7 separate regions of the Homo sapiens genome follow, and all the other regions are linked to region 1. Evidence: promoter capture Hi-C in 16 types of primary human blood cells and fetal thymus (Javierre and others, 2016). All regions are on one chromosome and are shown on one strand. Each heading gives the region's core, a stretch centred on a gene start or on the middle of the fragment in contact. The rest is flanking DNA. Distances are from core to core; before and after follow the strand shown. Region 1 holds the start of RPF1 (ribosome production factor 1 homolog). Region 2 has its middle 15 kb from the start of PRKACB. Region 3 overlaps PRKACB (protein kinase cAMP-activated catalytic subunit beta). Region 4 has its middle 61 kb from the start of SSX2IP. Region 5 overlaps LOC102724892 (a long non-coding RNA gene). Region 6 overlaps PRKACB (protein kinase cAMP-activated catalytic subunit beta). Region 7 overlaps PRKACB (protein kinase cAMP-activated catalytic subunit beta).

What was found. Contacts are between HindIII fragments. The CHiCAGO score rates a contact against its expected background, and 5 or more counts as called.
Region 2: a fragment that was not itself captured here is called in contact with the fragment with the promoter of RPF1 in region 1 in 15 of 17 cell types (megakaryocytes, fetal thymus, M1 macrophages and 12 more); the score reaches 11.3 in megakaryocytes.
Region 3: a fragment that was not itself captured here is called in contact with the fragment with the promoter of RPF1 in region 1 in 13 of 17 cell types (naive CD8 T cells, erythroblasts, M1 macrophages and 10 more); the score reaches 9.3 in naive CD8 T cells.
Region 4: a fragment that was not itself captured here is called in contact with the fragment with the promoter of RPF1 in region 1 in 12 of 17 cell types (M2 macrophages, megakaryocytes, endothelial precursors and 9 more); the score reaches 8.3 in M2 macrophages.
Region 5: a fragment that was not itself captured here is called in contact with the fragment with the promoter of RPF1 in region 1 in 2 of 17 cell types (megakaryocytes and M2 macrophages); the score reaches 5.4 in megakaryocytes.
Region 6: a fragment that was not itself captured here is called in contact with the fragment with the promoter of RPF1 in region 1 in 7 of 17 cell types (naive B cells, fetal thymus, M2 macrophages and 4 more); the score reaches 7.8 in naive B cells.
Region 7: a contact is called between a fragment that was not itself captured here and the fragment with the promoter of RPF1 in region 1, in 2 of 17 cell types (total CD8 T cells and naive B cells). The highest score is 5.5, in total CD8 T cells.

The regions. Positions count from the first base shown.
Region 1 is chr1:84,477,701-84,480,810 of GRCh38, forward strand. RPF1 (ribosome production factor 1 homolog) reads left to right here and starts at 1,566. Exons shown (of 9, transcript NM_025065.7): 1 at 1,566-1,809. The coding sequence starts at 1,582. RefSeq lists enhancers at 1,227-1,787, 1,983-2,142. The HindIII fragment of the contact is 6,088 bases long and covers 1-3,110 here.
Region 2 is chr1:84,127,204-84,130,441 of GRCh38, forward strand. It overlaps a transcript of PRKACB not described here. Among named protein-coding and RNA genes, the nearest start is that of PRKACB, 15 kb to the right of the region's middle. The HindIII fragment of the contact is 3,373 bases long and covers 98-3,238 here.
Region 3 is chr1:84,184,456-84,188,025 of GRCh38, forward strand. It overlaps PRKACB (protein kinase cAMP-activated catalytic subunit beta), which reads left to right. Exons shown (of 10, transcript NM_182948.4): 5 at 645-727. Among named protein-coding and RNA genes, the nearest start is that of PRKACB, 42 kb to the left of the region's middle. The HindIII fragment of the contact is 1,202 bases long and covers 1,324-2,525 here.
Region 4 is chr1:84,749,759-84,753,259 of GRCh38, forward strand. No RefSeq gene overlaps it. Among named protein-coding and RNA genes, the nearest start is that of SSX2IP, 61 kb to the left of the region's middle. The HindIII fragment of the contact is 2,207 bases long and covers 1,026-3,232 here.
Region 5 is chr1:84,783,435-84,786,813 of GRCh38, forward strand. The region is part of intron 2 of LOC102724892 (a long non-coding RNA gene); the gene reads right to left. Among named protein-coding and RNA genes, the nearest start is that of SSX2IP, 95 kb to the left of the region's middle. The HindIII fragment of the contact is 1,353 bases long and covers 767-2,119 here.
Region 6 is chr1:84,165,076-84,168,486 of GRCh38, forward strand. All of the region lies in intron 1 of PRKACB (protein kinase cAMP-activated catalytic subunit beta), which reads left to right. Among named protein-coding and RNA genes, the nearest start is that of PRKACB, 23 kb to the left of the region's middle. RefSeq lists a silencer at 1,931-1,980. The HindIII fragment of the contact is 3,536 bases long and covers 1-3,027 here.
Region 7 is chr1:84,201,983-84,205,215 of GRCh38, forward strand. PRKACB (protein kinase cAMP-activated catalytic subunit beta) reads left to right here. Exons shown (of 10, transcript NM_182948.4): 8 at 701-823. Among named protein-coding and RNA genes, the nearest start is that of PRKACB, 59 kb to the left of the region's middle. The HindIII fragment of the contact is 1,077 bases long and covers 874-1,950 here.

The sequences.
Region 1 (3,110 bases), core at 316-2,815:
AAGTATCTCAAACTTAACATTTCCAAAACTGAAATCTTGATCTTACCTCTCAGATTTGTTCCATCTGAACTTTCCCGCATTTCACCTGATGGTAACTCCATCCTTTGAATCACTCAGGTCGAAAGTCTTGGAGTCATCCTTGACTCTTTCATGTCCTCCCTTCAGTTCCATCAGTAACTTTACCTTCCAGAGGAATCACTTCTCAACCACCTACACAAGACTTACCCTGGTTCAGGCCACTATCATTTCTTCCCTTCTTCCACACACCCTGCCCCTGCATAGGCTCTTCTCAAAAGAAGATTCTGAATGACGCTTTTACTTTATTTTTATTTATTTTTTTGAGAGGGTCTCACCCTCTCACCCAGGCTGGAATGCAGTGGCACCAACATGGCTCATTGCAACCTAGCCTTCCAGGCTCAATGGATCCTACTGCCTCAGCCTCCTGAGTAGCTGGGACCACAGATGTACACCATGCCCAAACAGATATATATATTTTTTTACTTTTTGTAGACATGGGGTCTCACAGTGTTGCCAAAGCTGGTCTTGAACTCCCAGGCTCAAGCAATCCTCCTGCCTTGGCCTCCCAAAGTGCTAAAATTACAGGCATGGGCCACTGCACCAGCCTGATACTTTTAAGATGTTAAGATCATACCATTCTTTTCCTCAAAATTCTATAAGAGATCTTCATCTCACATAAAATAAAAGCCAAAGTCCTTACAAAACTCTACACCACCTGTCCAATCTCAACACTTCTTGCCTTTCCTGGCTTGCTACTGACTAGGAGCATTGGAGCTGGCTGTTTGCTTTGCCAGGACAGCTTTTCTCCTTGATAACCAGCTTTTCTCAGATTAACAGCTCTTCCCTCAGATAACTAGTTTAGCCCATTACCTCCTTCAAACCTTGGCTCAATGTAACGTTTTCAATGAAGCCTACTCTGAGAATCCTATTTAAAATTGCAACGTACTTTGGGAGTCCAGGGCGGACAGATCACCTGAAATCAAGAGTACAAGACCAGCCTGGCCAACATGGTGAAACTCCATCTCTGCAAAAATACAAAAATTAGCCGGGCATGGTGGCACGTGTTTGTAGTCCCAGCTACTCAGGAGGAGGAGTTTGCAGTGATCGGAGATCGTGCCACTGCACTCCAGCCTGGGCATTAAAGCAAGGCTCCGTCTCAAAAAGATGAATGTCTCTTCATCTTCTTTTATCCTGTTCTATTTTTTTTCCATACCATGTCTTACTCTGTAGCTCACCATAATTTATTTGTATGCTCATTTTAGGTTTCCCTCAAGTAAAACGTAAACTAATCCAGGCACGGTTTTTGTTGTTGTTCCATTATTTTGAGGGCTGGGCACATAGATGCGCAAGGAGTGCCCAAACTCATCATCTCACTCTTTATACAGCTGGGCAAACTGCCTAAAGTTTCCTCAAGCCTCAGCTTTACTATTTTCTTGAATGGCTAAAACTCACAAAACACATCTAGCGTCAAAAACTTTGCGACCCCGGAAGTAAAAGGTTAAGGAAGGGGGTCACAGGAGAAGGCTATTTCCGTTTCCGTACGGAAGCAAAGGAGCCAAGACCATGGCGAAAGCCGGGGATAAGAGCAGCAGCAGCGGGAAGAAAAGTCTAAAACGGAAAGCCGCTGCCGAAGAACTTCAGGAGGCTGCAGGCGCTGGGGATGGGGCGACGGAAAACGGGGTCCAACCCCCGAAAGCGGCTGCCTTTCCGCCAGGCTTTAGCATTTCGGAGATTAAAAACAAACAGCGGCGACACTTAATGTTCACGCGGTGGAAACAGCAGCAGCGGAAGGTACGCGAGAGGCGGGGGCTGCCGGGCGCTTGCGCGTTGTTCCTGACGCTTAGGGCGGTCGCGGGGCGCACATCTGTGGTTGTCTGCTGGTCTCAAAAGTGTTCTCTGTGGCTCCGTGGGAAGGGTGGCGTCGCGGCCCACGTGTTCTGGTCCCCTCGCCCTAGTTTGGAGACTCTAGGTTCAGCCTTTTGCCTGAGCGTCAAGGTGGAAGATTATCTTGATAGGCTCTTTCCTGGGACGCTAGATTCACAAGGAAAGCTGTAAGGCCAGTTGGCTTAGTAGTGAAAACTACGCCCTCCTGGCCCAGAAGGCAAAAGTCTCAGCCCTTTGGTCCGTCTAGGTAGCGTTGGTTAATTTGCAGAATCTGAAATGGAGGCAATACGTAATAAATCCAAAATACTGCTTCTCTGATTCCTGCAGGAGCTCCTTACCGAAATTAGTACTGTAAAGTTTCTGGTAATTGTATTTGTTCTTTTCAGCTTTATCCTTATACGTTTCTGGTAGGTAAACAAACTGAAACGTAAAGAGGTTTAAACGACTTGTCAAGGTCGCAGTGCTCATTTCTGGTTAAATTGCAATTGGAAGAAAACGTTTGCTTATTCTTGCACATCGTAGAAGTTCACACAATATTATTATTATGTGTCTGCCTCCTCTTACTGGCCCTTCTGAGGCCCGGGACTGGTTCTTACTCATGTTCAGTGTCAAGGTGCTGTTTCAATACATACAAGGGGCGTTTAACTCATTCTGGTATGCACGTATTGGGGAGGGATGTCCTGGAAGACTTATTGGAGCTATGATTTCTAATCTGAAACCTGGTGGATTGAGGATCAGTAGGTGCTGGGGAAAAAAGAATATTTTTTATTTTGTCAAGCATTCTATCTAGAAATCTCCAGAAGAATATATAGATTGACAATACAAATACAGATAATCTTAAGCCACCTTGCAAGCTCTTACTAAATTTTAGAAGTATATTTTGATTATAAAATATGTGAATAACTGGTGATGGTTTTATGGAAAACAACCTGAAAACTCAGCTCCCATTCCTATTTTTAGTGCTTTTCAAGAGAAGCAAGCAGCATAACCATGGTCGTCTTTAGGATGCCACCAGTTAGGCAAAACAAAACACAGTGGAAACCATCACATACTTTAATTAATTTGAGGCTTTATGGAAAAAGGTTAAGCTACTCAAATTTTAAATGTTCAAACTTGCCAGTTTAGATTTTTTTAAAGGAGCAGGTCTTTGTTAAAGAAATCTTATTGATTGGCCAGCTCATTTGGCTTACAGTAATTTAGGTAGAAAA
Region 2 (3,238 bases), core at 534-3,033, 350 kb before region 1:
AGGGAGGAAGACCAAAGAGTAGAATTATCTGCTAAGTTGAACAATTACAAAATAGTAATCTATCAAATAAAATCTTAAAATAGCTGTATGTAATTTAAGCTTATCATTAATAAGCATCCTAATTTTCCCCTGCTCCTTAAAATTACCTATACGACATTGAGCTAAAGCATTTCTTTGTTGGAAAGAAAAAAAATTGAAAACAAAAATGCTTGTGTATTCAGCTCTGCAGGAGGGATATTCAACTGTATCAGTATTAAAAATCTATCTTTCCAGAAAAGAAGTATGAAGTTAATTTACCTGCTGGTATTACTAATAGTTTAATTAGGTAAACAGCATGAGTTCAAAACAATTAATCATCTGCCATAAAAGTCTAATTATTCCTGGCACATTACTGAGCTATTTTTACTGTGTGAGATAAATATGAATTTTGCGGGTTTTTTTTCTTTTTCTTATATTTGATAGCTATAGACAATAAATTTAGTTCTTATTTTCTGTTGGACTCTGACTTTTGAAATGTTATTTTGCTAACACATTCAATTGACTATATTTACTGTTTTCCTAACTTGATTACTACTTTATTTTACTTCTAGTGAATATATTTTATGTTTTGAAGAAAATATAATATTTCCTATACTTAAATCATAAAATTATTTTAAGGATAAATATGTACTTAGTGGGAATTTTTTGTTTAAAGTAAGCCAATTTGCCAAATTTTACATTGTGTAAAAAATAAAGAGGCTTTGCTCAGGATTCCTCAGATTCCAGTCTATTCTTTGTTAGAATTATTTCTTTTCTTTTTTTTTCTTTTTTTTTTTTTTTTTTGAGACAGAGTTTCACTCTTGTCACCCAGGCTGGAGTGCAATGGTGTGATCTCGGCTCACTGCAACCTTCACCTCCCAGGTCCAAGCAATTCTCCTGCCTCAGCTTCCTGAGTAGCTGGAATTACAGGCGCCCACCACCACGCCCAGCTAATTTTTGTCTTTTTAGTGGAGACTGGGTTCCACCATGTTGGTTAGAATTATTTCTTTAATGTATGTACCTTAGCTGCAAAAAAGCAAAATTAAAAAAAAAAGATGTTTTAGCATACAAGATTTTTAGACAGTATAGGACACATAGAACTGACAGCTTTCATGTTGAAGAACAATATTGTCTTGATTTCACTGGAATTGTTCATTTGGGTCTATAGCATTCTGTCCAAATTGCAGAAATTGATTGTTATGGCATACCCACGATTTTCATGCTCATATGTTATAACAGAATAGTTTTTAAAAATCTTGTTTGAACAGTTTGGTTGTTTGCATGCTTCCAGTGTTTAGACTTTTAAAAAACGATTTGAAAAAATATGATATTGAAGTGTACTTTGATTTTCTTTAATTTAAATAAATAATAGTCATATATTTATTAATCAGATGTATTAATGTAATACAGTTTACAAAGAAATTTTATGTATATTCTCTTAGTTGAGCCATACACAAAACTAGTGATATAGTCAGGGAAGTTATTAATGATCTCGTTCAGCAGAAGAGGAAACCAAAGATTATAGAGGTAACTGATTAGTTTAAAAAGTGGCATATCTGTCAGCATTATGTGTGTTCCTATTGCCCAGTTTTGCCCATGTAATTTTCTGTGATTATGGAAATGTTTGATGTTGGCACTGTCTACACATGTAGCCATTTAGCTACATGTGGCTGTTGAGCACTTGAAATCATGGCTCATGTGACTGAGGAACTAAATTTTTAATTTTATTTAATTTTAATTTACGTAACCATGTGTCACTAGTGACTATAATATTGGACAGTGTACCCTAGACTCAAACATATGAATAAAAGCAATTTGAATTCCTGGAAGAAAAATTAGAGAATACTTACCTTTCAATGTACAGCATATGTTTTGAGCAATTGAATATTCTTACATTAGAATTGTGAGATTAAATAAATTTCCATATCTCTTTTTATGTTGAATAGTAAGATCATTGTTTTTGCATATTGTATTAACTTACTGCTTAATATTCAGCACAATTATAAACTTTTTTAGTTTACTATACTTTGAGATATATATTACTATTATAATTTTAGGTATTCTGGTGAGTTCAAGGATAAAAAACATGGAGTGTAATTGTGAAAATTTGTTTATGTATTTGAAAATATATCAGTTTGCCAAGAGTGAATCAATTTCATATTAATAATGACACCATACTTGATAGTAGTAATCATGAAATTTTGTATAAAAATTACATTTTTTAAAGAAATGTATGCATGTAACTTTTTGTCTCATAAAGTACTGTGACAAAAGTACTACAACTTTACTGTGGATTTACTCAGAAAAATGTATGTCAATTTCACACTGAGATTAAGGTGAAGCATGTTGAAAGTAAAACTTTTATCTTTTACATTTTTTATTTCTAAATCTATTATTAAATTATTAAAATCAGAAGTGATGAGATTAGCTTCTAGTTCCAATTAAGATGGAGTAAGTAAATGCACATCACTCTATTCCTCCCACTGATTATGCCTAAAAAAGATTCTGAACAGAATACATAAAGTAGCTGTAGAAAGACTTTGAAAAGTAAATATAGCAGGAAGATTGGAAAGGGAAATCAAAACTTGAAAAGAGACAAATACAGTAGTGAATTTCCTGCTTTTAGCAATTTCTTCCTACATCCTCCAGCTTAGACTCAAGGCAGTCAGAATTCCAGAACTGTACAGTGGATTCAGACAGAAAATGCTGTGGCTCACGCCTGTAATCCCAGCACTTTGGGAGGCCCAGGCAGGCAGATCACGAGGTCAGGAGATGGAGACCATCCTGGCTAACAGGGTGAAACCCCATCTCTACTAAAAATACAAACAATTAGCTGGGTGTGGTGGCGGGCACCTGTAGTCCCAGCTGCTGGGGAGGCTGATGGCATGAACCTGGGAGGCGGAGCTTGCAGTGAGCCAAGATCGTGCCATTGCACTCCAGCCTAGGCAACAGAGCGAGACTCCGTCTCAAAAAAAAAAAAAAAAAAAAAAAAAGAGAAACTCTCTTTCTCTAATGAGAGACCCTGTAAGGAAATCCCTGGTGACAAGGAAAAAAATCAATGAAATTCCATTTGTTTGTTTGTTTTCTGGTCCTGCTTTGAGACAAGATATACTCCTAAAACTGCACTCCTGTGTCAGTGGCAGTAGCAACAATGACCAAACAAGTACCTCAAATTATGAGAAAGAATGGAGACAACCCAGAAAAGAGTCAGTGAATTAGA
Region 3 (3,570 bases), core at 675-3,174, 290 kb before region 1:
TACTTTGATTAAGCCCTTTTTGCCACTATCTCATCTTCTTTTACTTAGTAATTTGAGTTCTAGTCTTTTCACTTATACAAAGCAAAATTTTTGTTCCACTATTCAAATGTCTGAAAAATTGTACCACATTTATTATTTAAATTGGTCACTTTTGAGCTCTTTGGAATGATACTGGCATCTCTCTGCAATATTGAATCATATGAAACATTTTAATCTTTTTTCTCCTTTATTCTTTAAATTAAATGAAGACCTATGTATTTAAAATATTAAAACCATTAATCTTTTATACATAAAATGTAAATATTCTTATTAACTTTTTAAATTGTTTTTTACCTTTGTTATTCTTTTGCATATATTATAACGTTACTTCATTGCCTGAGTATTTAATTGTTTGAGAACTAGATGTTCTCTGCAAGAAAAGGAAGAGCAAAAGTCCCAGACTAGTTTGTGGCAAAAATAACTAGGAGGGGAAAAATATGAGTGTCTCTGTATAGAAAAGCTAGAGCATGTTCCATTTATTCTTTATTTCTCAAGGTTATTAATCTGTCAGAGAGATTTTAAATTTTTCTAATTCAGCATTATATAATATTAAAATAATTTTGACCTAAGTTGAATAATTGTATTTCCTTTTTATTTGTTCATAGGATAATTCTAATTTATACATGGTTATGGAATATGTCCCTGGGGGTGAAATGTTTTCACATCTAAGAAGAATTGGAAGGTTCAGGTAACTAATGGTTTTGCTTTCTTCAAATCTTTATATGCTTGTGTTGTTTAACCAGATTTTTAAGTTGATGCCAATGCCAAAAACTTATTTTGTTTGATTAATATTTTGGCCATATGAAGCATTAGGTGGAAACAAAGAGGCCACATCATACACAAGTTTTAATATAAAGAATATAAAAATTTAATATAAAAAAAGGACTTTGAAGCCAATTTAAATGTTATACTACTGCTAGATATTGTGAGGGTCCACTACTTGAAGAGTTTTCAGAAAATGGAAAAATTAATTGAATTTTAAAATATCAATATTTATTAAACAAAGATTAATAATACAACTCCAGGACAGAGGATTGTTTTAAGGATGAAGATGGAAAATAAATATATAGAGAAATAATAATAATAGTATTATGGTAATAAGATTATAAAAGTTTGTTTTTCACAAATTTAATTCTCCTTAAAGTTCTTGCTAAGTTTAGTTTTTAAAATATACACATAATTTAACGGGAGTTTGTACCTCATCAGGTTATGACTAATAAGATCTCAGAGTTATTAAAATAGGTTATAGAATCTGATGGTTTTACCTGTACTTAATAGTTTATAAGCTTCTACCGTTCATTAATAATCACTAATAGAATAAAGCTAAAATAAAAAACAGGTACAGCTTCATTCAGTATAGTGTGTTGAAGTCAAAATAAAAATGTAGAGACAAATCTCTAAATTCAACATTTTATTGAGGAAGCAAGAATTGCAGTTTGAGGCATATACACAGACTAGGTGGTCTTCAATGTGTCTAGAAAACAAAGAAAAGGTTGGAGGTTTTATAAAAAGAAATTTTATGTTTATTTGTTTTGAAACAAAGTTTACTAGCACTAGTTAAGTTTTGGGGAGCTGGCAAGCTCTGATTGGTGAGTGATGGTGGTGGGTCAGACTCGTCTAAGAGTCGCAGTAGGTTGTCTCAGTAGCTGTTAGAGAAAACTGGTTTCAGGTTACAATAGGCAGTTTCAGCAACTAGACTTGTGGAAAATATAATTTTTTTGTTTGTTTTTGGTTTTTTTTTTGAGACTGAGTCTCCCTCTGTTGCCCAGGCTGGAGTACAGCGGCACCATTTCGACTTACTGCAACCTCTGCCTCCTGGGTTCCAGTGATTCTCTTGCCTCAGCCACCCGAGTAGCTGGGACTAGAGGTGTCCGCCACCACATCCGGCTAATTTTTCTATTTTTGGTAGACACAGGTTTTCACCGTGTTGGCCAGGCTGGTCTCGAACTCCTGATCTCAAGTGATCCACCCTCCTTGGCCTCCCAAAGTGCTGGGATTACAGGTGTGAGCTACCACACCTGGCCTTAATTCTTGGAGCAGGTGCTGTGTGCCCTGAGTGCGTTATTCCCTGGCCCCTCGACTCTGATTTAGTTAGGTATGATGAGAATGACTAATTTGTATAATCAGCTTTCACATTTTTCCCTTTTGATCAAGATCTTTCTCTGAAAGCATTGCTTGTCAACCATCTTGAAGTTAGGCTTAATTATTCCTTGGTGCTCGGATGGACTTGTTCTGGTTGTCTCTGTCCCACATATGAGAGAAGTTATCTGTTGGGGGGTGTCTATGTAGGGACCTGGGCCACATTCAAGTAACGAGGAGGCCAGAAGGAAAATTTTTCTCAAAGTAGATTTTTGTCTGGAGTCCAGCCAGCATCGAGTTCCCACTTATCACTTCCATAGGTATTAGCAGTCATCTTTAAGTGTTGGGCTAACGTTATTCTGTTGGGACAGCTGCCTTTACAAAGATTAGATAGGCACTAAGAACAAAGCTTACAAATGATAGTACAAAAAAATTAACAATATAGTAAAATGTATTTGTGCAGTGCTTTTGAACTAAAGCCCAGGCCTAAGGGCAAAAAACTAAAGAAATCAAAGGACCAGGGGAAACTGGTGAGACCTGCTATAGCCATTGACTAACATTTTATGACTGGGTTGAACTAAAGCAGAGAATGCCAAACTTTGCAAGAGGGACCACCAGCACAAATTAAACAAAAAATTGTGTTAAGGATATTGTCGATGTTGTGACTAGATGAACTGAAAGAATTTCTTAAGTCAGGCTTTGTCAATGGCTTTAGCAGGTCTCACCAGTACCTATAGCAGTTACTGATTGTGAATTTTAAATTACAATATTATTTGGTTAAGTGAAAAAGCAGGCATTAAGAGGGGTAAGAGTTTCATTACAATATGGAGTCTTGTTCTAGTGTTTTGAGAAAAGCTGTTCACACCATGGAAAACATCAACTTTCTTGGCTTTGTTTACAGTGTAAATGTCTCTGGCTATGGCTTTGGGCAGTTTGATGAACTTTCTGTGTGGCCCATACATCAGGCATGAGACTTGTTTCTTAAAATTTATATAGTTTCAGCTAACAGGACTTCAGGAACAGAGCGGTTCTCATTTTAGTAATTTTATGGAAGAAAGTTCGATTGGAGGAACCTAGAAGAATTTAGGACCTTGTCTAGTCTATAGGTAGATAACAAGACTCAAAAATAATGTACAGACTTACAGTCTAATAACAGGTATATTATAGTTATTCTTTAGAAAAAACTTTTTTCTCTACATTGATTACATAGGAATCTTGGATTTAAAAACCTCTTGAGGCAAGGAAGCCGAACCAAGGCAGTCTTAGATTTTCCTTACAGTCTTGAGGTTCCTGGTCCTGCCAGGAAGTAACAGTTTTTATTTACTCATTGTAATGCTGAGAAACCCTTGAAGTCAGGCATTTTATGCACTTTTTAAATACGATAGTTCAGTTAGAGCCTTAGTAATATAATCAGTGTTTTCATATTCTGCTATAAAGAGAGAGCAGATTTTT
Region 4 (3,501 bases), core at 879-3,378, 270 kb after region 1:
TGAGATTGGTTTGGATCTTGTGTAAAGGAGGGCAACCACTTTATAATAGCCACAGATCACTTGCACTGCTGCTGTGATACAATCATTCAAATATCTTCATTTGTTTAGAAATGGTTGAGGATCATTCTTTTTTCCCAAATGTATTATTCTCCATAATTCCATCCCCAAAAGCAAAAATGTCACAATGACTTGCTGAATGCTCAGTGTGATTTGAGCTTACTGATAGCAGAGACCATGCTTGTCTATCATTGGATCCCCAGCAGCTACCAACATTCTTTGCACTTACTGGGCGCTTGTAAATGTTCATTGAATGAAAGAATTAATCAATGAATGACAAGCTGGGCATTACTTGGTTCTATCAAATTTAATCATGCTTCCACGGTTTCACAATCTACCTTTGGAAGTGAAAATGTGCGGCATGCCTCACATTCCATCAATAATGCAAAGGCTTCTATGAGACACTAGGGAAGTAGAAAACAGTGGTTTATTGAATCAGACTAAAATCTGTTAGTGGCAGAAGTACATATTTGCAAACAACTCTAATAAAATGACCTGGAGGGACTTTAAAAGGCTCCACAGCTTTGTGAGGCTCTGGGTGACTCCCTGGCAGAAACATTCCGTGGCACTTTGACTTGTATTTTCCTGCCCGATGAGGCACATTACTCAGAGAGTTGACATAAACTTCCTTTGGCCAGCCATGGGAGGACGTGTGCACACACGCATAATGGGATGGAGAATTGAGAATGTGTTAGTGCCACTCCAAAAAAGACATCTGCTTTCAAAAATGTTTATGTTTAGCACAAAAATGTATTCCATGGAATTATGGCATGCATTTACATATTCATGGGCCTTAGAGGATATCCAAGTTTAAATTAGGAGCTTTCTCTTCAATTCTATCAAAGCTTGGAATTGCCATGGGAGTATGGCACCAATACTCTGGCAAGGAAGTTTGTCCCCTGAAGCCTCTCAGAGAAGGATCACCCAGCAGGGCTGCCACTATTCACACATAATGCTTGACCTATAAAAGCTTTCCCTTATTATGCAATGCACCTTAATTATTTCCATTCTATTCTAGTCCATTTCTTTAAAATGCTGGTCACATTCACTATATTGATTACCTGACCCACTAATGGACTGTGATCTGTAGTTGGAAAAATACTGCAGTAGAAAAATGAAGAGTGACCCCAAACTAAAGACTCTAACAGGAAGCCACAAAGACTGCTTGGAAGGTTTGGGAATGTTGTAGTCAAATCCATACCCAGAATGTGCTTATCAAGTGTGGCTTGCAGCTCGTGATCTGGGATGCCAGGCTGTCTGGATGCACTATGGCGGCAGTATCATGGGCTCACAAAATGGGGAGAAGGGATGGGAGATGGCTTTGAATTCTTTCTCCTTTAGCGTGGTGTTCAGGAACAAGCCACCTCTCTTAGCTTGGAGGGGAGGCTCATAGAGCTCTGTCATCCACAAGGAAATCTCCCATCCTTTGAGAGGAAATGCAAATGTCATCATCCCTTTCCTTGATGGGTCCTGTAAGGGTCTACTTTCCTTGACCCTTACAGTTGAAAGTCCTCTTTTTTCTTAACCCCTAGGGCACATAATTTATTTCTCACTTTGAGTACCTAACACTTTCTAAACTATGCTTTCAGCTTTTTTCCTTTATTGACTGTATGTAGCATCAGGACTATGATGATGTCCTACTCATTTTGTATCCCTGTGTCTAGTATGTGCCTTGCACATATCAGGTGCTCAATCAGCATTTAGGACATACACAAAGAGGCCAGAGAAATGCTTTGTCTTATAACATTATCCCTCTGTATCCATGGAGAATTGGTCCCAGGAACCGCCCTCCTCCCCACCACCACCCTGCAGACATCCAAATCCTCAGATGCTCAAGTCCCTTATATAAAACGGTCTAGTAAAATAATGTGTGCACATGGATACAGAGAGGGGAATATTAGATATTGAAGACTCTGAGGGGTGGGAGGGTGGGAGGACATGAAGGATGAGGATTTACTTAATGGGTACAATGTCGCTAAAAACCCAGACTTCACCACTATACAACATATTCATGTAACAAAATGGCATTTATAACCCTTAAATATATAAAAACAAAATAAAATGGTGTCATATTTGCATATAACCTATACATATCCTTCCATATACTTTAAATCATCTCTAGATTACTGTATACCAAATATAATGTAAATGCTATATAAATAGTGGATGTACTGTATTGGTTTTTTATTTGTATATTTTTTATTGTTGTATGGTTATTTTTTATTTTATTCTCAAGAATATTTTTGACCCAAAATTCATGGATGTGGAGCCCATGGATAAGAAGTGCCACCTGTTCTCAGAACTTGAGAATGATTTATCTTTGAGATGATGTCACTAGGATTCTGCAGGAGGCTCACTTATCAGCATTGGTATTCCCACATATCTTACCTTCTTACTCTTCTCCTTCTCCCTCCTTCTCCTTCTCCTTCTTGCTCCTTCTCCTTCTTTTTTAGAGAAGAGTCTATGTTGCCCAGGCTGATCTCAAATTCCTGGCCTCAAGTGACCCTCCCACCTCAGCCCCCCAAAGTGCTGGGATTACAGGCATGAGCCACCTCTTACCCTGAGCCTGCCCATTTTCCCATGCATCCATCCTCCCATCCAGCTCTTATTGAGAACCTGCTGTGTTCCTGTGCTAATCGTGGTGGTTACTAAGGTGGGTAGGGCAGTGCCTGCCTCTAGATCCCAAGTCTAGTGAGGCAGAAGAGAAGTGAGGGGGTAATGACCACAATGTGAGAAGCGCTATAAGGGGGGCAGTGGCCCACGTCTCCCAACTCATGTCACAGTGCAGTGCTCTCTCACCATATGCTTTTTGACTGCTTCTCTCAGACTTCTTTTTTTTTTCTTTTTTTTTTTAGATGGAGTCTCTCCCTGTCGCCCAGGCTGGAGTACAGTGGTGTGATCTCGGCTCACTGCAACCTCCACCTCCTGGGTTCAAGCGACTCTCTCCCTCAGCCTCCCAAGTAGCTGGAATTACAGGCGCCTACCACCACGCCTGGCTAATTTTTGTATTGTTAGTAGAGACGGGGTTTCATCATGCTGGCCAAGCTGGTCTTGAACTCCTGACCTCATGATCCACCTGTCTTGGCCTCCCAAAGTGCTGGGATTACAGGCGTGAGCCAGCGTGCCTGGCCTCTCAGATTTCTTAAACTCTGCCCCACCAGCAAAGATTTTGTTAAGCTTTATATCCCATAGTTTGTATTAGGAAAACAATAGCTGTGTTAAAAAATTAAATTGTTATAATATTGAATATGCATTTTCTAAGTGTTCACGTGTCTAAAGCAACAGGTGATACAGTGGGAACTGCAATACGGTGTGAAAAGGAAATTATTTAAACAAATAATAATAATCGAATTATCTTCAAGACATTTCCTTTGGCCAGGAATAACATCTGAACAGAAGCGTGACCCTGGCCTAAAGGTTTCTGCATGATCCGGTCCCTACCTG
Region 5 (3,379 bases), core at 193-2,692, 310 kb after region 1:
AACGTCTATTGAACACCATGTGCCAAGCCCTATGCCAGGTGAGGGGATCCAAAATGAATAAGACGTGTTTCCATTCTTAAGGAACAGATTAGGGAGTAAGTCAAACCCAGAGGCATTATTCCAACAAATGGGAGTACAGAGGGGGCTGGAACTCAACCTAGGCTTCCTGGAAAGGAAGGGAGCCTGAGGTTGGCCTTGGCAGACATGTGGCAGGTTCCCCGGGACTGGAGAGTGGTGGGCATAGGACAGCGTGGCAATGTGCCTCCAAGGTGAGCACGGTACTTGGCACACAGTAGGTGGTCAGCACACGCACTGAGCTGATAGATGGAGCAGGTAGCCAGCAGTCAGTGCTACTGGTGCGTGAACGCTGGCCTGTGGGGGTTGATGGCGCTGAAGAGGGTCTGAAGCCCGAACCTGAGGAGGGCCTTGAGTGCCAGGCCCTTATCTTATAAGACCTTACCCTACAAGAGTTTGAAGCAAAAGAGTGACATAGTCAGATTTACATCTTCTTTGCTCATTATTCCACTACCCTAAGGAAGCCTCCTGAGAACTTTGAAGAGTTGCCCTCTAAGATCACAGTCTCATGTGACTGGTATTGCAAGCAGCTACTCTCCAGCCATATTATAATCGTGGTGCTCCTTCAGCCAACAAATGGGCTAACTAGATAGCTAATCTTGAGATACTCGGTCGACAGTTTATAGGGTGAAATGTTCAGTCTCTACCTTAGTTCCTAATCTGTAAACAGACCTTTTGAATTCTATTGAAAAGCTTTCTCCACAAACCTTTCCTACAAACAAGAGTTTATTCCCACCTCCTGTCCTTAACTGCTACAATGCACTCTTACCATCATGAACACACCTCTGCACATCCAAGTACCCAGTCCTATTTGTACACTTACGGACCAGTATCATAATATGACATCCTGGATCAACTTCTGAAATGCAATAAGCAACGTGTCACAGCATAGGAAAGAATCAACTTCAGGCTTGGGCACAAGGTAGGCCAAGGCTGACATTCAAAAGAGGGCTGTCTATTGTAATGTCTAGTTTTAAACCTGGATCATGCCTCACTCTCTGAGATTTCTGCTACGTTTTAACGATTTTTCTGAAGATTGAATAAAATAATGAGTAAAGTGCTTAAAAATGCCCTACCTATAGTAAGCTCTCAATAATATTGTCTATGTTCATTATGATTAACAGGATAGTTCTGCCAAACGTTCAGGTCATTTATACCTCTGAGGATAGAGAGAAATTTATCTATTGTGAGAAATGAATTTGGCAGTTTTTAACGTTAATTACTTTGGTATTGTTCCTTCATGTTTTGTGTTTATATCTTGGCCCCTAATTATACTGTTAGGACTTTGAAGGCAGGGATCTTGTTAGATTTGTATTTTTATATCCTTCAAAGAATCTAGCACTATTTCTAGTATGTCATAGATATTCAATAAATAGATCTAGATTGACTCAATGTTAGAAGGGCTCTATAAGTATTAAAGTGTTAATCACCACAATACTCGGCAAGTGATAATCTGCCCCACAGTCCTTGTCTTTGCTGCCACATCAGGAAAATGGGCAGACATAGGTTCTTGAGGTGGGTAATGAGCCCAAAGGTCTGTAGACTATACTGTCTGACTGGTTCGCACACCCCAGCTAATCACTGTATCTCTGCTTGCCACTATACACTGGCTGAGGAAACCTCATGAACTTCTCTGACCTGCAGGCTCCAGGGTCCCAGATGCAGCACCGGTTCCCCAGGCATTTCTTGTGCTAAGGTGCGTATGACTCCTCCAAAGGTCAGGAGAGGCCCTGGAGAGCTGGCCCCCTTCTTGGGTATCACTTGCAACAAGTTGGGGCAGACTACTTTGGCTTCTTCCTCCTGGTCAAATAATAGGCCATTCAGTCTTGGGGAGAGAAATGAATCAGCAACCCCAGGGCCATTCCAGTGGCCCTGAAAGCTGCCAGCTGGACAGCCCATTTCAAACAACCAATTAATATGAGCACCACAAGTTGATTTGAGCAAATCCAGGCACCTCTCTCTGCAAGTACAAGACGGGCCTGCGTGTCTGCATGGAAAATGAAGTTGTTTCACCTTCCATGGCATTGTTCCACTCAAAGAAACAAGCTTTATTTATCTCAAAACTTGGCTTCTGTTGACTTGCCAGATGAAAAATGATGTGAAGTTACTGAAATCATCTGCTAAGGGAAATGAATCCAAGCACGGTGAAAGATGTTTTGCTGCTTTTTCAAAGCACATCAGTCAGCTTGTCTTACAAGCACAATATAATTTTCTACCAGGTAAAGACAGTAATTATTTCAATTAGCAATTGAATTAGATGTAGAAGATAATGAGGAATAAAGATGCTGAACTAAGTTCAATAACTCACCACATATGCTTCTCTTTCTTGTTCTAGCTAAAGTAGCAGTAAACAGAGTGAATTCAGCTGTGGGATGATAGGGGCCTTTCCCCGCAAGTGGACTGAGTCTCAATTCATCATTCACTGCCTGATGAAGAGGCAGTATAGCAGACATGAGATGCCAACAGTACTCAGCCTATGCTCAGTCCAGCACCATCCTTGGTGCACAGTGACCCTTGTGGAAAATGGGAAATTATGAAGTTCTATGGTAATTAGTGAAACAATAACTTAAAGATATTTTCAGTTCCACTGCTGAAATAAAATAAGGAAATTCCAAGGATCTAGAGTATTTTTATTCAGCATCTTCTGAGACCATTCCTTTGATTTCACTCATGTGCGTTTCTGGAACGGGAAGAAGGAAAAGAGAAGGGGAGAGAGTGCAAGAGCCAGGGCTTCCTTATTCTGGGAAGACTTTGACCAAACTAGGCTAATACGGCAGAAAGAAACTGACACAGCTGATGGTCTTTTTGCACGTTTAGCACATCTGAAGTTTCTGTTTTGATTAGCGCCTCTCCATGTTATCTGAAAAGTCTATCACTAAGCAAAAACTGACAGTACTTCAAGGAGTAATTGACAAATTTGTGATCAGAGTGGGAGCTTTAACATGTCTTTCTTAGTAACTGATAGATCAAACAGCCAAAAAATTCAGTAAAGTTATAAAGATTTGAACAAGACGATTAACAAGTTTGATATAAAAGACTTATATAGAGCACTGCATTCAACCACTGGGGAATATACATTCTTTTTAAAATCACATATTACCTTTGTAAAAACTAATTGTGAATTAGGGCAGAAAGCAAATATCAAATCTCAACAAATTCAAAGAATAAGTATCAAAAGACCACAACACAATTAAGTTAGAAAAAAGTGAAAATTATAATTAAAAATCTTCATACAATTAGAAATTTAAAACACATCACATAAAAATCCATAGAGACAGAAAGCAGATTGGTGGTTGCCAGGGGC
Region 6 (3,411 bases), core at 10-2,509, 310 kb before region 1:
AATATTTTTAAAGGGACAGTTATAAAGCCACAGCTACTGTGAATTATATTTTGTGGTGACGCTTTTGTACTTAGGCATTATAGTAAATTGCCTTCAAAAACCAGTAAGAACTGTAAACAATTAATGGCACTATTAATAATCAATACCAATAATCAGTTTCTAATTTTCTTTATGGTTCGATTTATTGTATTTGTTGGGCACTGTTATTAATTGTGTTATAAATTAGTAAGTAGACTAACCATAAGAGAGGATTTTCTTTTAGTATCTGATCCTGAAGATAATTAGTTTAACTTTCCTTTGATTAGCTTTGTCATTCCTAATGCTAATTTTTATTAGATTATTTTTATTAGATTTTTTAAATAGTAATTTTGAAAATAAGATGCTGCCAGAATTTTGTTGATGTCTTGGTTGCTTTTACCTACAATTTATTGAGAAATAAGGATTTAATGATGAAATAATTAGAGCATTTTGGTTTTGTAGGGTTTGTTAAAATTTTTAATAAACAGTTTTTGGGGGAAATAATTTTTTAGAATAAGTACACTTGTGACAACTAGTCTTTTTTGTTATAATGTGATTTATTTTTTCTAAATATTTCCAAAACTGTTTTTTTGAAAAAATATACTACAGTATGTACTGCAGTTTATCATAGGGTAAAAGCTGTCACTTCAAGCCAAACCTGCAGCTAAAAATAGATATCCTGTTGTTAGAGTGAAAAACATTTGCTTAGAGCATAATTCATTAGCATCTTTTGCTTAAATAAGATGCTTGGAAGTTAACCTTTGATTCAGATATTTTTAAGAGAAGTAGAATATGGTTTCTCTGATAACATAACAGTCCTATAATTTGCATTTATAAGATTTGGAATTGGAATTTAGAAACTGAAAGGTGGATTTTTGCTGTATAATGATAGAATTCAAAATTGACGAACCTTTTCTTTCATAACTGGAGATCACCTCATTATAACCAATAAATATTCTTTATCCTGCTACAGTACAATATAAACCTCTTAAACACTGTTATATATTTGTTTATAGAATAATATTAGATATTAAAGGGACATTTTAACATGCAAAATACTAAGAATTAACTGGATTGTTATTTTCCTGTTACTGAAATAGATCTGTTTTAAATAATCTGCTGTTTTAAATTTGAACGAATATTACAAAAACAACTTAACATTCCTTAGGATTTCTATGGATATCAAACTGAATATACCTGGTTGTCATACATATATTTATTTGAATCAGGCCAATGCATATTTTCTCTTTGAAAATTTGGCATATAATCTAGAATCTTTAGGTAACCACCATGGTGTTCTGGAGGTTTTACAACAGGATGGATTGGATTTAGCTGAAGGAAAATGTTATTGCTTCACTATTGCTTTATTTTTCTTTAAAAAGCTATGCATTGTAGATAGCATTTGATATATTTGATCATATTGGCTTTCCCTTCTAGCCATTTTATACCACAAATAATCATAGTAATCACAACTAGGTGTTCTGACTTTGTCGAGAATGCCCAATTTCAACTGATTTTAATCATGTCATAAATGGTTAAGTGTCCTAGCCATTTCAACTTGGAAAATTACAAGAGAAGTGTGGTTTTATTTGTAAAAATAAGCAAATGCTAGGCCTTTTAATCTAAGTCTGTAACTACACATGTGATATTTATGTGTACATGGTACTTTTCTCGTTATAAGACTATTCCTTTTATCCTTTGCCAATTAAATGTTGGTTTTCTCTGAGAATCTATCTTTTGGCCTTCTTTTGATGCTACATTTTCTCCAAAAAATCTCATCCATGCCTACATCTTCAGTCATTACCTGAACGTTCAGTTCAAAAGTGGATTTTCTTTTATCATCCCTAAATCTGCTCCATTTTCATTGACTCTGATATCTGTTAATGATCTCACTGCCCATACAGGAAGTGAAAACAGAAACCTTGGTCATTTCTAACTTGTTTCTTACCCTCAGACATGTACTCAGTCATTAAGTTCTATTGATTCTACATCAAAAATCACTCAATATTCTCCAGTCTTACTGACACTGGGATGGCTTCTAGATCTCTTCTCAATCCTATTATAATAACTGCATTACTGGTCTCCCAGCTTCCAGTTTTATATCCTTCCAGGCCATTTTCCACACTGAAAATTTTAAAATGCAAATATGCCCATTTTTTAAACTAACATGAAAACTTTCAGTTACTCCCTATTGCCTTTAAAATAAAAGTTAAACTCCTTATTAGGTCACATGCAATCAATGACTTACCTTTTTGGTTTTGTTTGCAAAATCTCTCTCACAAATTTTGATCTAGCCATACTATATTACATATAATTCCTTGCTACCTTTCCATATTTATAGTCTTTATCATAAAAATTTAGAGAACCAGTCATTACCTCCGACACTGACCCTGTGGAATTAGGTGATTTCTCTGTACTCCCAAAGCAAACTTACAAACTACAACAATTATTGTATTATATTGAAATTATAAATTTGTATGTCACTTTCTAATCTCTAAATGTTGAACTCAAGTCAAGGACAGTGCCTTATTCATTGTATGTTTCTAGTAGTCACCCCAGTACCCCAAACACAGCAAGGTACCCAATAAATACTTATAGAATTAATGATAAACTAAATATAATTCATTTTTACATACTTGAACAGTTCCCTTACATTGCCAGTGAAAAATACCAGTGTGGGTTTTGACTTTTTTTGGTTCAGAAAAATACAATAACCATAGTATTTACTTGTTCCTTTATCAACTTTGTAGGATGAAGTCATATAAAATGCTTAAGAAACTAAATTGTACCAGTCAGTACCTTTATCTTTCTAGTATTTAAAAAATTGGTTATATGTGAAAAGAGCCTTCACTTTCTAAATGTTTTTCTTACTCATAACTCTTTTTGTGAAGTTTTTGCCCTTGTTAAGCAAACAAGGTCTATAAAGAAATACTAAAGGAACTTCTCTGAAAATCAGTCAAACTATTGTAAGGCCCTTATGTTTAGAGGTTGTAGCAACTCACTCAAATAAGCTTAAGCAGAAGAAGATACAGGTATTATTGGGATGCAGAGGATGTCATGGAGCTCAAAGGCAAAAGTAGAGTTGAGCTGTTCCAAAGAGTAGAATTGATTTGGAAAGCTGACTGGAATCATAACAGTACCTTTCTCAGTTTTTCTCTCTGAGATCACATGACGTCTTTACTTTTTTCCTTGTATTTGCTTTATTATCCTCACTGTGTAGCGAATAGGTTTCTCTGATGCTTGTGCAAAATGGAGCTTAGTCATCTGAAAGCTTCAAAGTTTATGTGCTCTCCTAGTTCATGTGCTTTTTGATGTAACTAGCATCATTATATCAAAATCCTGGGTGAGAATCCTGGCCCAGCTGTAGTTGAGGGCAAATCTCTGAAGAAGAAG
Region 7 (3,233 bases), core at 162-2,661, 280 kb before region 1:
CGTTACTCCCTTTCATTTGATACAGTCCTCACAAAACTCTGTGAATTCATTTTTTTCCTGCATATCTTTTAGATATAGGAAGCAAGACAGTAGATAGCAGAAGTAAAGTATACCTAAATATTTACATGAATTGAATTTTACATTAAACTTTTTGCTTTCACAAAATCCTATGAAGCAGATGGGATTATCCCTAGCACATTCACCCTCCTAACTCCAAAAATATAGAGTATTTTGAAGTCAACTTCATTATTTACTATGTAGTCCAGTTTCTATTATTTTCTTTGAAAACTTTTGATCTTTCTAGGCATGCTGTGGAAAATCTGTTTCATAAGATTATGGACCTAGAGTGGGCCTTAAGAAGTAATGTGGTCTAACTGCCTTCCTGTTATTGAGCAAGAACTAAATTATACCAGTGAAATAAAGAAAATTTCATTGTCTATAATATTCTTAATAATTTTAGGAAGAAGATTTAATACTCTTTCCTAATATCCAATTTCAGTATCTGGAAATCCTCTCCTTTGTTTAATTTAAATCTGACCTGATACATTTGGTTCATTTTTAAATTCTGTCCTGAATAGCTGCTCAGCAATTGCTTTAAAAAAATTTTTATATGCTTCCAGATCATTTTGAAATTATCTTTGACTTCATTCTCTTTTGAGTAACTTAAGTAACAATTGACATTGGTGTTGGTTTATCTCAGGGCTACAATAAGGCAGTGGATTGGTGGGCATTAGGAGTGCTAATCTATGAAATGGCAGCTGGCTATCCCCCATTCTTTGCAGACCAACCAATTCAGATTTATGAAAAGATTGTTTCTGGAAAGGTAAGTAAAACATTTTATTATTCCTCTCTTATTACTGTATATGAATTTTAAGCTTCATGAATTGAAACTATATTGTGTCATAATTATTATTCTACATTGGGAAAAATATAGAAAAATCTACAGTTGCTGCTCTTACTATCATAAGAATTGAATCATTTCAGTCTCTTAAGAAAAAAAGGGCAGTTTTATAAAGAAATTAACAAAACAGTAAAGCAATTTCTGTATTTAGTATTTTTATCACAAAGAACAGGATCATAGCCATAATTCTCGATATTCCTTCAAATAAATAAAAATAGTTTATTATTTCATGTGTCTATCTTCATGGAGAAAAGTTTTAGGGGCTGTTTTATATGCCCTTCCATTTTCAGGAGAGACTTCTTGTTTTAATTATGTCCAATACTATAACATTGGAAGTAAAAGTAAATATAAAATGAATAAGCCTTTTTCAGATGGAAATTTATAGAATTGATTTTAACAGAATTGTTCATATAGATTGTGATTATACTTGTCATTGGTTTTTAGCAAACATGGAAATAACATTAATTTTTCTTCAACATGAGTAGACTTACTGTGTTGTAGTATTTTACATTTTGTAAATTTCTTCATAAACCTTCCTTCTTTTGCACTTATAACCTCTAATTTGCTTTCAAGAGTGTTTTGTTTAGGGTCAGTCATTTGCTGTTGCCTTAGCTCAGACCTCGGATCTTTTTTTAAAAGACCATTGTCAATTCAATAGAAATGAGCTTGAATTTCCTACCATGCAGCAATGAAAGAATAGGCTTTTAAACATTCCCAGAAGGAGACCTTCTATACATTAATGACAAAATATATGGGAAGGGATATTTTGCTTATTTTCCCTTCTTTCTATTTCTACATGTGGTACTGCTTTGTCTTTTCTTTTCTTTCCCACATAGTCCCATTTAGAATATGATCAGGAAATAGAGCATCAATCTTTATCACATTAGCCTGAGATGTTATAGAGTTGAGGTTTTTTTGTTTTATTTTTTATTTGTTTGCTTTGTATTTTGTGACCTTCTTAGGCAGAGATAAGCCGGAAGGAGATAGTAGAGGGAAGGTCTTTATTTCTTTGTATCTCAGCCATATTCAAGCTCTACATTTAGTGTGAAAGCTTACCCTTGGCATCTATCAACTTACAATTTCCATTGTTAACTATTCACAAGGTACCCTGAATGTCTCTAATGTGGTAATTTATTTTTTTTGCCAACACTCAAATTTAAATCATAGATGCTGCACAGCTGGGCTGTAGCAACAAGACATTTGCCAATAGAATTAGTCTATCCAATCACCTAGAACATACATTTCAGCACAGTATTGTTCCCTATCTCATAGTACATATGCACTCTACCTGGGTCATGAGATTTTCCCTTGTATTTTGCCACGTTTTATGTAGAAAGTTTTATTTATTATCAGTATTCACAAATTAGGAGACTGACTAAAGAATTTATACTCCAACTATGTCAAAGGTAAAAAAATAAATACCTCTTACAGATAAATAAACCTAGCTAGGTGTTGAATGCTGTGCACTGATAAAGGCAATACAGAAAAGCAGAATGCAGTACTTATTTAAACAAGTATCAGTATCACTGCTGTTCTTCTTACATTTGTAGATCTCTGGCTTCAGACTTCTTATCTTTGTAATTGTTTTCTCCCAGCAGAACTTTTGATATGAACAAAACAAAACTTTGAGAAAAATTAACAGACAAGGCAGTGATTTATTTTTGAAGAATTTGAGAAGTGTAGACTCTCAAGAGGACTAAAGGTCATATGAAGAATGATGAGAGAACCAAAATACATTAAAATCACAAATGGAAGAAGAATATTTTACTAATACAAAAACTAAGAATGTAAATGTTATAATAATTGTTTCAAATCATTTAATTGACAGTAATTATAAAGTTCTTGAATCTTTACTATATTACTTTTATTTATATTCATATAAGAAATCCAATTTTCTAACAAGGATACTGTCATAACTAAATTTACATTTATTAAGAAAAACTGCTTTAGTTAAAATTAATGTGTCTTCATTTTTATGCATTGGCCTCGATTTGCCAATCATTCTCTATTGGTTAAATTTTATATTCAGCTGTTTATGAATATATATTCATTTTATATCAAACTTTAAAATTTTGTATCTAATAATCAGCATATATTCTAAAATCATAACAGTCTAAATCCTGGGCACCTTAGAAGAATGACACCAGAAAACCTTATTATATCACAATATTCTGTTTTCCCCTTCATTTATTTAGAAATATGACAGGATATTTGGTGTACTTTTGTTTTTTAACTAAAAGTACCAGATTATCTCTCCCCATGTGGGATATAAAATTATCCCCATCTCTTACTCCCTTTACTCATCTAAAGTAGAAGTCATGAAAGTGGAATT